2 separate regions of the Homo sapiens genome follow, and region 2 is linked to region 1. Evidence: promoter capture Hi-C in 16 types of primary human blood cells and fetal thymus (Javierre and others, 2016). All regions are on one chromosome and are shown on one strand. Each heading gives the region's core, a stretch centred on a gene start or on the middle of the fragment in contact. The rest is flanking DNA. Distances are from core to core; before and after follow the strand shown.

Region 1 (6,753 bases), core at 3,417-5,916:
CACCTTGCTCTTGGACTTTCAGCTCCCAGAACTATGAGAAAACAAATTTCCGTTGTTTAAGCCATCTGATCTGTGGTGTTTTGTTACGACAGCCCTAGTAAACTAAAACAAGTGTCAATTCATATTAGGTGTAGACAGAGAAAGTATAAATTGAAGGGAGAGCTAAAGAAAAAGATAGTTAATGTCATCAAACTATGTTATTTTACTTTAGAATCAGTAATACATGCATACATTACAAAATGTCATATATGTTTAATAAATGGTTAGTTTTTATTTACTGCATGTTCGAAACACATTTTATTTTACTCTAGTATAGAACATTTTCATGGTGAAAATATCAATGTAAATAGAAAGCAGCTAAATCTTGGCTAACTTGGTGGCTACCTTTGTATTTTGAAAGCAATCTATTTTATCTCTAAATAATCCTTTTATTGTGTCTGAAATTATACAGTTAGAAATTTATTACATTCGATCTCTTTAAACTTGAAGATTTTTGTCTTCATTGATTTATTTTTAGGGCTTTATATAAAAGTGAAATTTAGGCTGGGCGTGGTGACTCATGCCTGTAATCCCAGCACTTTGGGAGGCCAAGGCAGGCGGATCACTTGAGGTCAGGAGTTCGAGACCAGCCTGGCCAACATGGTGAAACCCTGTCTCTAGTAAAAATACAAAAAAAAAAAAAATAGTCGGTTGTGGTGGCAGGCACCTGTAATCCCAGCTACTCGAGAGGCTGAGGCAGGAGAATCACTTGAACCCGGGAGGCAGAGTTTGCAGTGAGCTGAGATCGCGCCATTGCGCTCCAGCCTGGGGGACAAGAGCGAGACTTTGTCTCAAAAAAAAAAAAAAGTGAAATTTATAGGGGCAGGAAGAGGTATGGAGGATAACTTCAGGGAGGCCACGAAAGCCTTATTTAATCTGACTCAGAAGCTGACCTTTGTATGTAAACCTCTGAATGGAAAATAAGAGGACCAAGGGGGAAAAGAGAGAGCTCAAATAGATAAACTTCACCTTTTCACCGTGAGCCCACCTTAAAAACATAGTGTTCTACAGGGAAAGGATTCCCTATTCAATAAATGGTGCTGGGAGAACTGGCTAGCTATATGCAGAAGATTTAAGCTGGTCCCTTTCCTTACACCATACACAAAAATTAACTCAAGATGGATTAAAGACTTAAATGTAAAACCTAAAACTATAAAAATCCTGGAAGAAAACCAAAGCAATACCATTCAGGAAACAGGTACGGGCAAAGATTTCATGACGAAGATGCCAAAAGCAATCGCAACGAAAGCAAAAGTTGACAATTGGGAGCTAATTAAACTAAAGAGCTTGTGCAGAGCAAATGAGACTATCAACAGAGTAAATAGACAACTTATAGAATGGGAGAAAATTTTTGTAAAGTACGCATGTGACAAAGGTCTAATATCCAGCATTTATAAAGAACTTAAACTTACAAGAAAAAAACAAACAACTCCATTAGAAATTGGGCAAAGGACATGAACAGACCCTTCTCAAAAGAAGAAATACATGCGGCCAACAATGATATGAGAAAACTCAACATCATTGATCACTGGAGAAATGCAAAACAAAACCACAAATGCAAATCAAAATCACATCACTCAAAATGGCTATTACTAAAATGTCAAAAAAAAAAAAAAAACAGGTGCTGGTGAGGTTGCAGAGAAAAAGGAACATGTATACACTGTTGGTAGGAGTGTAAATTAGTCCAACTATCGTGGAAGACAGTGTGGCAATTCCTCAAAGACCTAGAGACAGAAAAGCCATTTGACCCAGCAATCCCATTACTGGGTATATACCCAAAGGAATATAAATCATTCTATTATAAAGACACATGCATACGTATCTTCATTTACAGCATTATTCACAATAGCAAAGACATGGAATCTACCTAAACGCCCATTAATGATAGACTGGATAAAGCAAATGTGGTACATATATACCATGTAATACTATACAGCCATAAAAAGAATGAGATCATGTCCTTTGTAGGGACATGGATAGAGCTGGAGGGCGTTATCCTTAGCAAACTAACGCAGGAACAGAAAACCAAACACCACATGTTCTCACTTATAAGTGGGAACTAAATGAAGAGAACTCATGGACAAACAGAAGGGAAAAACACACACTGGTGGCTATGGGAGGGTGAAGGTGGATGAGGGAGAGGATCAAGAAAACTAACTGAGTACTAGGCTTAATACCTGGGTGATGAAATGTTCTGTACAACAAACCCCCATGACACCACAAGTTTACCTATGTGACAAACCTGCACATGCACCCTTGAACTTAAAATAGAAGTTTAAAAAACAATGCTTTTTAGTGGCCAAAATTTCCTGTGTTGTTTTCCTTTTTAAAAAATCACTAGACCACACAAACAAACCTGTACACTATTGTTTATAGTAGCTTTATTTGTAATAGCCTCAAACTGAAAACAACAAAATGTTCCTCAATGGGTGAATGATTAGACTGTGGAACATCCATATATTGGAATACTGCTCAGCAATCAAAAGATCACACTATTGATATAGATGACAATTTGGATACAGTTCAAGTGAATTATGTAGAGTGAAAAAAGCCTGTTCCTAAAGGTTACACACTGTACACTTTCATTTATATAACATCCTCAAAATGATAAAATTACAAAGATGGAAGACAGATTACTGGTTGCCAAGAGTTAGGGTTGTTATATGGGGAGGAGGGGTGGGTGCATCTATAAAGGGGTAGTAAAAGGGAGATCTTTGTGGTGATAAAAGAGGTCTGTATTGTTTGTAGTGATAGTCACATGGAATTACACACGATAAAATGACATAGAGCTACATACAGACATTGTACTAATGTCAGATTCCTGGTTTTCTTACTGTACTATAATTATACAAGATGTAACTATGGGGGAAACTGGGTGAAGAGTACATGAGACCACTCTGAACTATCTTTGCAACTTCCTGTGAATTTATAATTATTTCAAATAAAAAGTAAGATATAAAAAATCACTTGAAGGCTTTCATCATTAGAGAAATTCTTCTTGGATTCAATGGAGACAGTTTCTTTGGCATCCTTACTTTAACGGCATGCTAGAGAAAAATGAAAAATAGGTGGGAGACTGGAGAAGGCAGTAAGCCTTGCCATGCAAATTTAGTGAGCCATATGAAATGTCAAAGAGCATAATTATTTTCACAAGACTAAAGGCCTTTAGAATAGAGGCTTCTAAAATAAATAATTCATTTATACAATGTCGCCTAATGCATAGCTGTAGTTACAGGGTGACTCTTGATCACAGGGATGGAAAGGAAGTAGAGGCAGAAACTTCCAGATTCCCACAGTCCCCTCACACGGTTACAGAAAGGCCATAGTGAACTTCCTTCTCTCCTCTCCCCTCTGCTACAGTGCAACTTAGTTTCAGTTTAGTTTTTGATTTGGGGAACTTGAACCATCTCTAGGTAATTTCTAGTCCAGAGAACTTGTACTTGCACAATGTCCTTCTTGGGCAAAATCCGAAGTTTGGCTGTAGCAAATTTGAATCCTTGTGGTGGTTCCCTTATTACAAAACAAAGATTGACTAGAAATCTTCCAGATGTTGAAAAAGACAACTGAAATTAATTTCTTTGTAGAGGGGCAGAAATAAACTCTAAAGAGTTAATTGACATAAGGCCAGTACCAGTGTCCAGGTAGCAGAAGGAAGTAACTAAGACAGTGCATGCTTTTCTCCTTTTGGTTTTCATCCAGTCCTTCCATAAACCACTTCTGTCTGGGCCTCTATTTCCTTATATGCAATAACAGTTAATTGTTGTACCTCGTGTGTTTTCTGGCATTATCTTAAATTTGGTTTCATATCTGTTCCTTTTGAGGTGAGAGTGGAACAGCCATGTGGAAATATTAAGGTTGTAGTAAGTACCTCAGCTCCGGAAAGAAGTCAGAACTAGAGATTTAGACATTTGGAACTTCAGAGGCAGTATACAGTAATACTTTGGAGCCACATTTCTTGGGTCCAAACCCTGGTTCTCTAGCAAGTTATTTAACCTCTCAGTGTCTTAGTTTTTCAATTTGTGAAATGGAGATAAACGGGGATGAGAATAGCCTCACAGGATTTTGGAAGGATTAGTCAATAAGCCCTGCTAAACACTGTTTACTATTGCTAGTATATAGCGCAGACAAATAAATATCTGCGACATTCCTCTAATTCCAAGAAGTCGTTTGCCTTGGTTCACCCGCTAAATAATATTAAGAGCCTTTCTCTTTAAAAAGAGGAGCAGCAAATTACTTTTCATTAATATCATCAGCATAATAATAGACTTAGTTGAGAGATTCAGCGTGGCAGCACTTCACACAATCGAGCTCTCTTATTGATCATGTCATAACAGCATCTCTATTTCTTAAGGACTCATTTCACGTCATACACCCATCCGATGCTCCTTTTTCGTTAGCCTCCGTCTCCTAAGTGGGCTTATCTGTCTCCTGCTATCAGGAAGGCACTAACTTTTCCTTTGGGTTGTTAGGGTAGCAAAGTGATTTTCAAATTCAGGGTTCTGGCTCCTTCTGCAGCCCAGAGAGGAGGAAACAGGGCGGGACGCCGCCGGATTCCTGGGCAGGGCTTGAGTGGCGCACCTCGAGGCGCCGGCGACGCTGGCGTGTGACGTTGCTGCCTGACGCAGGCGCAGTGCCGCCCGGCCTCGGTTGGGACCCCTCCCCTCCTCCTCCGCCCCCTTGGGTGTCGGTGGCTGCGGCCAGGGTCTGGACCTGGGCGGCGGCCCCGGGCGGCGGGGCTAAAGGGTGTGGGCACCGGCAGAGCTTCGCAGGCTGCATCCGGCTCGGTGCTGCTGCCGTCGCCGCCCCTGCCGCCGCCCAAGGCCCTCGGCGTTCCCCGGAGAGAGGCCAGAGGGATTTCGGGCTGCCTCGGCACTCGCCCAGGTGAGGGGATGGGCCGGGCCAGACGGGGTTGAGGTCGTCAGCCCCTTTTTCCAGTGTCTCTGGAACTCAACCTGGTCGGAGTCTGAGAGCTTTGGCTTAGTAGTGGCTGCCTGCGGCGGCGACTCCTTCATATTCCTTTGCCATCCTTACCTACAGCCCTGGCACCTATAAACCGAGGGTTGGAGGTCAGTGGCAAAGTCTGGAAGGGCCATGGCAGTCGGATGGCTGGGGACTTTGATACAGGAGCAGTTCCTGCGGGTGATGGTAAGGCGCTCCACTTGCTGGTGTGTGGACTCGGCAGGAAGGACCGTGCACCCGCAGGCTCGGACTGCAGCCTTGCCAGCTGCACTGGGTTGTAGTAGACCCCATGCTGCTTAATATAGGGTCGGTTGACCGAGGGCGGGGAAGCCTTGGAACAACCCCCGCTTTCTTCTCTGGGATTGATGTGTTTTGTATTCTGAATTGGTGCTTGCTGCACTGCACTCTAGAAGACTACGTTTCAGCAGAATTTCCTATTGGTCAAAGGAAGGTGAAGAGAAGTTGATTTTTCTTCCGGAGAGTATTAGTTGTTGTCGTTTTTTTTTTTTTTTTTTTTACCTTCCTGTTGGCCTTAGTGTTGACGTTTGTTAAAGGTAAAAGTTCATGTGAATTTCCTTTTTAAGGAAATCATGGGCTTTATAACTGTCTAAGCGCCTGTAAGTTTCAACCGGTTTAGTGGTTTCTGCTTTCACCCTGTGCATAGCAATGAAGTTGTTTTATTCCAAGTTAAATATACAAAGTATAAAAATAGATGAATAACCAGAATACTTTGTAACTATTGAGTGGTACATATAATTATGTGCATATATTATCACATTTAATCATCAAAACAATCCTATAATGTAAAGTCTACTATTCCCATTTTCTAGATGAAAGAACAGAATAGACCTACAAAGTAACATGTTCAAAGTCAGAGCTGTGACTGAAACCAGGTAATCTGACTCGTTTGCAGTCCCTTAGTCAGTATGCCATACCAACTCCCAAGCACCCTGTGATTTTGCAAGATTTTCATTTGATAAAAAGTATGCCAGGAAGGACATTATGGCACTGTTCTTGCCGGCAAGGACCCAACAGTTTGAGAGAAACTTTCTCAATGTGCATTTTGAGTTATGTTTTAAACATAGGATTTGATCTCTAGGACCTTTGATTACCAAACTCATGCTCTTAAGTACAGTGGTTTTGGAGTCTTTGGAAGGCTTCAGTTTGGAAGTTGTAGTTTTATTTTATACTTAGGAGTATTTGTTGTTTGGAAACTTTAAACAAGGAAACGTAATATTGGACTAAAAGAGTTTCGTCCTGTTTGTGCATGATTAAGTAACGAAATCATATAATCAGAAATGGTTATGCTGCTCGTAAAGCCAGAATACCTTGTATAATTAGTTAAAATGCCATACTTTTCAGGTTTGTTAAGATGAAACACTGCAGAAAGGCTATCTGAAGAAAAGTAGAAGGAAAAACAGAACGTTGCAAACTCTGGAAAAAAACTTGGGTAAGTATTTTTGGCTAAGTTTTAAAAAGGTCAAATTTTCGGTTAAAGACTTTTTTTTTTTTTTTTTTTTTTTTTTTTTTTGAGACGGAGTCTCGCTCTGTTGCCCAGGCTGGAGTGCAGTGGTGCGATCTTGGCTCACTGCAAGCTCCACCTCCCGGGTTCACGCCATTCTCCTGCCTCAGCCTCCCAAGTAGCTGGGTCTTCTGACTTTCTGCTTCAGTTGTGGTTTAATCTGCCTATATTGCTAGGGAATGGGGGTGGGGTGGTGGTGATATGTAATGTAACCTGTTAGTCATTTTACTTGA
Region 2 (6,526 bases), core at 201-2,700, 150 kb after region 1:
TCTTCGTAATCATTTGCTTGTAATTTTTTTTATTTTGCTAAACATTTTTTATTTCAAAGTCTTGTGCTAACATTACTCAGTTCTTAAAATGTTAAGTGTATACCTTTCCTGTAGAATATTAGCAAGTTCTGCATATAGTAATGTTAAATAAAGTTAAAAAACAGCAGTTAGATTCTCTATTTTATAAAAATGAATGTTCACAGCTTATTGGAGATTTTTTTTGTTTTTATTTTGCCAAAAATTATTATGTAGATTTTAATCTTTTTTCCTCTTTGAAGAACCAAGTAGAAAAATGCCAGTCACAGTTTCAAAACTGAATCGCTGCATTAAAGATACGAGGAAAAAATGAACAAAAATTTCTTGTCATCTCTTAGAGGTTCTAATTATTCTGAAATATTTAATACATTGCCATTTAGAATATGGACCTCATCCTAACTTTTATATAAAGTTTATCTATGACTTCATATTTACTTCTTGCATGGCTATTTTGTATATTAATTTCAAGTGTTTATGGTACAGAGTATAAGGAATATACATTAACAGCTGAATTTGAGAAAAATGTATTATAGTTTTTTTGGTGAACAATACCATTAATAATGTTTAGTTTCATATTAAAACTTTTTCCATTATTTTATTTTATTGAGCTTTAAATTTTATTTTAGGTTTATGAGGAAGCTGGTTCTGATTTTCATCAAGTTGCCTATTTTAAAACCAGAATTGGATTAAGAAATGCCCTCCGAGAAGAAATCAGTGGTTCTTCAGATAGGGAAGCTGTGCTTATTACTTTGAATAGACCAATTGTTTATGCACAGCCTGTGGCCTTTGATAGAGGTAAGATAAAGTCAATCACTACTATCCTCTGGGATCTAGGAATGCTTTGTTAATGCTAGATAAGAATCTTGTAGTTTACTGGTGTAAATGCTTGACAGCTAAATGGTTCCTAAATCTGAAATGTGTGTATCCAAAAAAAAAATCTTGCTTTTTGCCTTCAGTTTTTAAAAGTTATTTTACATTTTAAAGTTATTTTGTCTTCTGGCTGGATAACATAAGAGTGTCTGCTTCAGATTATGTAATTGTAATGCTGATTTTTTTTGTTTTGATAATTAATGCACCCATTTGTGTTTTGGCACTGTGTTTATTTTTATATTCTATAAACATTTATCAGGTACTGCCTAGAAGTGGAATACAAAAATAAACAACAGTATCCCTGCCCTCAAGGACCTGTCAGTCCAGTGGAAAAGAAAACAAAGTAGACTACACAGTGGAGTCAGAGATGTGTTCTTGGTTCTGAGGAATTCTCTACCTTTGCCTATGCTTCTTAGAGGAGAAACTAATTCTTGATTTGACTTTGAATTAGGAGTTCACCAGGGAGATAAGGAAATGAAATTTACTTTTATATCCCAGGGCCTAGAACAGTCCCTGGCATACAATAAGAACGAAATAAACATTGAGTAAGAGAGAATAAGAATGAATGTGTTTAAACACATAAGTCTAAGAAAATATAGCAGTAGGTTTCATAGAAGAAAATAATGGGAAAGAAGGCTGAACAGGTAGACAAGGTCTAATTAATGTGGATTGGGCAAATATATTTGAACTGTATTTTAGAAGTAATGAGGAGCCATTTAAGAAGCCATTTAAGATCTTCATCAGTGATGGACATAGGCTAGTAACAGAATCCTGTTAGAAAATTGCCCTTTTGGCAGTGTTACAGATAGCATTTTATTTTGCTGAATCCCATGTACATGTTTTTCAGTTCTCATTTTACTGACCTCTCATCAGCTTTCATCAGCTTCTTAAAGTATTTTGTACCCTTGGTGTCCTTGACACAAAACAGGTTGAGTACTGGTTTTCCAAAGTAATTGGGACAGGAAGTGTTTCAGATTTTGGATTTTTTCAGATTTTGGTATATTTGTGTATACATAATGAGATATCTTGGGGCTGGGACCCAAGTTTAAACATGAAATTTATTTATGTTTCATATACACCATATACACATAGCCTGAAGATAATTTTATAAAATATTTTAAATAATTTTGTGCATGAAACAAAGTTTTGACAGCATTTTGGCTGCAGTCTCACATGAGTTCAGATGTGGAATTTTCCACTTGTAGCATCATATCAACATTCAGAAAGTTTTGGGATTTTGGATTTCGGATTAGGGATGCTCAACCTGCATTTGCTTTTCCTCCTACTTCTCTGGCCTCTCCATCTTTATGTCCTTTTTAGAGGCCCCTCCATCTATACACTGCTGTGAAATGAAGGTTTTCCTTAAGGTTTGTTTCTGTTTAACAAACTCAAACATCTTTGACTTTTCTCTGTAAATCAGATCCTTTTAATGGTATGTTCCTAGCATTATGTACCTTAAAGAATTTTAAAAGAAGTAACAGCTCTACAGATGAAGTTAAGCACCATGTCTGTTTTCATTTGTTATTCCATCCCAGTATCTAACATATAATAGGCATTTCACAAATAAGTTAGAGGGAATGAACAGACCTGGATTTTCTTCTTCCTTGTGCCATTATGTGGTTGCCTGCTTTCTGTTTTATTTTTTCATTTGTTATTTAAAAAATGGTGACTATATGTCCTCTTAGATCTTTCCTAATTCTAATGCTACAGTTTTCTGGGTGTAATTTTTATTAAGCAACAGGATTTTGCAGCTTTTGAGTTTTACTTAACATATAGATTTACAGTGTTGATTTTAATTTTCTTTCTGCCCTGTCTTAATTATCAAAAGCTGTGCTGTTTTGGCTGAATTATAAGGCCGCCTATGACAACTGGAATGAACAACGAATGGCTTTACATAAGGATATTCATATGGCTACAAAGGAAGTAGTAGATATGCTACCTGGTATCCAGCAAACATCAGCCCAGGCCTTTGGGACTCTTTTTCTCCAGCTCACTGTCAATGATCTGGGAATTTGCCTACCTATCACAAATACTGCACAGGTACAAAAAGTCAAGTCATATTCCAGGATTAAGAGCCAGGCATTTCTACATAACCATTTCTAAGTATTTAGAATATAACAGTACATTTTTCAGTGTAACAGTTTATAACTGTTTAGTAGGTAGCAAGTAAGATTGAATTCCTTCAACCATTACTCATCTCAATGTATTAAATCTTAATCTCATGGGACTTTTCTCTGAAGCACTCTTATATGCTTCAGAATAGTGATAAGATTGATACCCCCCAGATAACTCTTAATTTTTACCTTCATAAAAAGAAGCTTAGTTTCAGAATCATTTTATTGTTTTCTTTTTTAACAAGGAAGTCATTGGTATGGACTTGTTTATAAGATGGAAATAAAAGGACATTTAAGAATACTGTTTAATGAACTTAACCTGTAATAGAATAGGGAATTCCAAAATGCTTTTATACTGTAATATTTAATGGTAATGAAACTTCAAAGCAGTGTGCACATAAACCAGGAATTTTCTCTTTGCAACTTAAGACCAATTTTCAGGAATATGTAACTGCATGCACATGTGTGTATGAGAGAGAGAAAAGGCTATGAACACCTGTCAGGCCAAGAAGCAACAGTTATTAACAATAGCATATAGAGATCTATATTTTACTGTTACAATTTACCTTAATAACTTGTAACCAGTTGTTGAATTAATTTATCTTTTAGGATTCTGTTCGGTAAGACAGTGTTAAGAAAAACTTCAGGTTGAGGATGGGTGGCATTGGTATGTTTGTGTTTCAGGAACTGAAATATAGTAGTTTTTTAATAGCATAATGGGCACTGCCTAGGAAGGCCATAAACACCACAGGTGGGTGGCATAGTGAGATCATCTCCCCACAACTAAAAGAGAGGCTTGAGATAGAAATGTAGATAGCCCTTTGTATGTTAAGTAAGAAAAAAAATGCACATGGCAAGTACATTGCACTTAAGCAATTTAATTTTTAAAAGGCATCTTTCTAAGCTGCTCTTTAATGAACATATCTAGGCTTGACCGTTTCTAGATTTCTATTCCTATGAATCCTGTGAGGATTTCTAAGTTTAAAAAATTGTCACCTTTTGTCTTATTTCTTCTTTAATATATTTTGCAGTCTAATCATACTGGAGACCTTGACACTGGTTCTGCTTTGGTATTAACCATTGAAAGTACTCTCATCACTGCATGCTCTTCAGAGTCTCTGGTTAGCAAAGGGCATTTCAAAAACTTTTGTATCCGTTTTGCTGATGGATTTGAGACATCATGGGATGACTGGAAACCAGAAATTCATGGGGATTTAGTGATGAATGCCTGTGAGTATCTTTTATTTCTATATACAGTTTAGAACTTAAAAAATAAAACATTAAGTCTCCATTTGTGAAATTAAAAGATGCTTAGATATAGCAAATGTTTTTAGACTTTGAGAAAGAAGGGCTATTTCTAGTTACAGGTAACAAACCATATTCGTGAAAAACTACAGCATTGAGTAGTTTTGGTAAGTAAACCAACCAGGCATTCTTTTTGGTACTATAACATTTGAATGTTTACACAGTCCCTGATTTTTCCTGTAATTGATCCATGTTTGACCAGATAAAGCATTTTTGACCTGTCGGAATCTTGAAAAAAAATGATAAATGTGCAATATCCAACTCACCATAAAACACAGAACAGGTTGTAAATAGCCAGGACCAGGAACGCCAGCCTTAATTAATATTGACGTGAATAAATCCACATGTTCAAATTTGTAGGAGTGCAGAGTGTAACATGAATTCCTGCAATTCCATAATATTCAAGGTTGGGTATAACTAAAGCTGTGTTTATAGGCCGTATTGAAGATACGGAATTTATTTGTATATATTTTTATATTTTAAATATTATAGCAGAGTTGGTAAAGCATCATTAATCTTAATAATAAAGAAAAATTATAAATAAGGAGTTAAAAGGTTATGAACTAAAATTCCTCAATCTTGTAAACTAAATTACTTACTTTTTAGAAAGCGGTAGCCCATTGTTTATGTAATTTTTTCCTCTCTCCACTAGAGGGAAATCTTTCTACTTCCCATTTTCTTTGAGGAATGAGAAAATTTCTATTATTTTTACAAAAATTGAAGTTTTAGCATTCAAAATGAAAAAGTCTTGGTTTTAATGTGTAGGGAAGGAAAAATATCTTTTCCTACTACCCTTTTAGGCTATTTGCTGGGGGGCTTGTGTAATAAAAGACCAATTAATGAGAGAAAAGCATACAGGTTTATTTAATATGAGGTTTTTTTGTGACATGGAGCCTTCATAAGGAAATGAAGATCCAAAGAAATGGTTAAACCTGAGTATTTTTATGCTAGGTTTGATGAAGAGTAGAGAGTTGTAGAGCAATGTGAGAAAATAAAAAGGGGTATGAGTTAAGCGTAGTAAACTGGGGGAAACTAACCAAGGTCTGTTTGTTCAGATTCATCTCAGTGTCCCTCCACTTTGGAGATGAGGATGCTCCTTTCCTCTGGGTATAGGAAGGGCATCTCTCACATGTGGTTCATATGACCTACTTCAGAAGAAAGTCAAAGTCCTTCCTGCATCTGCTGCTTCTCAAATTGCTTCAGTTTAAAATACCTTCCATATGACAAGGTGCCATTTTAGAAGGCAGTGTGTACTAAACCCCATCAAATACTTTGCATTTAGATAATTATAGGTAAAATACCAGTACTTATTTGAAATACTTCAGGTTACTGAGAAGACTTGATATGGAAATACTCATGCCTATTATCCAAAAGACCAGTATCAGCCTACAACAGAAATCTTTATAGATTTATTATTTTACACAATAGTTATACATGGCTTTTTAAAAATCACTAAAACATATCTTTTGTTTTTTTAATAAAAGACAAAAATAAATTTAAACTTAGTGATTTTTATTAAGGTGACAGCTTTACCATCATTGTATTTATTAAAATAAGTAGAATATATTTGGAAAAAAAGGAAGTAAACCATTTCCTTAACAGTTTATCTTAAAGGGCAAATGCATAAGATATAAAATGAGAAATACGCTCTGACTCAGAATCAGAAACATGCATTAAAAAATGAACAAATAATTTAGCACCTCAGTATATATTCTGTTAATACAGAACACTAACATGCTGGTAATCATGATACTCAGAATAATTTATTTTGGGTTTTAGAGGGGACTAACTGACATGCTTCTGTAACATGCTTATTGTTTGGGTTTCTTGGGAGGGGGCCAGAAGGAGATAAGCAGAGTAGTTATGTAACTGACATATTTATAAAACTTCCAAATGATAAAATGGACAAATTAGTTTACTAGCTTATAGTTTTTATTAGTAATAAGTATACCTCAATATTTTTGAACAAAGGTGATGTGTATAGGGCAGAGAAATAAGGAATGTTAGGATTATGCCTTAGAATTTTTTTAACAGGTCATTTTTAAAACATACTCTAAAAAAAAAGTGACCCAGTAAAATTTCTTCTCTAGGTGATAATGTTTATTGAGAAATGCATTAGAAATTAACAAGGACAGTCTATAGGAAGAGTTCAAAGAACGATTTAAGTAGATAGTAAATATTAGGACAATATCATGAATGTG

What was found. The method cuts DNA at HindIII sites, captures the fragments that hold promoters and counts their contacts. A CHiCAGO score of 5 or more calls a contact.
Region 2: a contact is called between a fragment that was not itself captured here and the fragment with the promoter of BLTP1 in region 1, in 1 of 17 cell types (neutrophils). The highest score is 5.1, in neutrophils.

What each region holds. Positions count from the first base shown.
Region 1 is chr4:122,147,665-122,154,417 of GRCh38, forward strand. It overlaps BLTP1 (bridge-like lipid transfer protein family member 1), which reads left to right and starts at 4,667. Exons shown (of 88, transcript NM_001384125.1): 1 at 4,667-4,920; 2 at 6,361-6,448. RefSeq lists an enhancer at 3,958-4,759 and silencers at 4,582-4,771, 4,842-4,921. The HindIII fragment of the contact is 21,892 bases long and covers 1-6,753 here.
Region 2 is chr4:122,305,215-122,311,740 of GRCh38, forward strand. It overlaps BLTP1 (bridge-like lipid transfer protein family member 1), which reads left to right. Exons shown (of 88, transcript NM_001384125.1): 57 at 663-831; 58 at 2,735-2,946; 59 at 4,052-4,250. Among named protein-coding and RNA genes, the nearest start is that of ADAD1, 71 kb to the right of the region's middle. RefSeq lists an enhancer at 567-1,097. The HindIII fragment of the contact is 3,544 bases long and covers 1-3,222 here.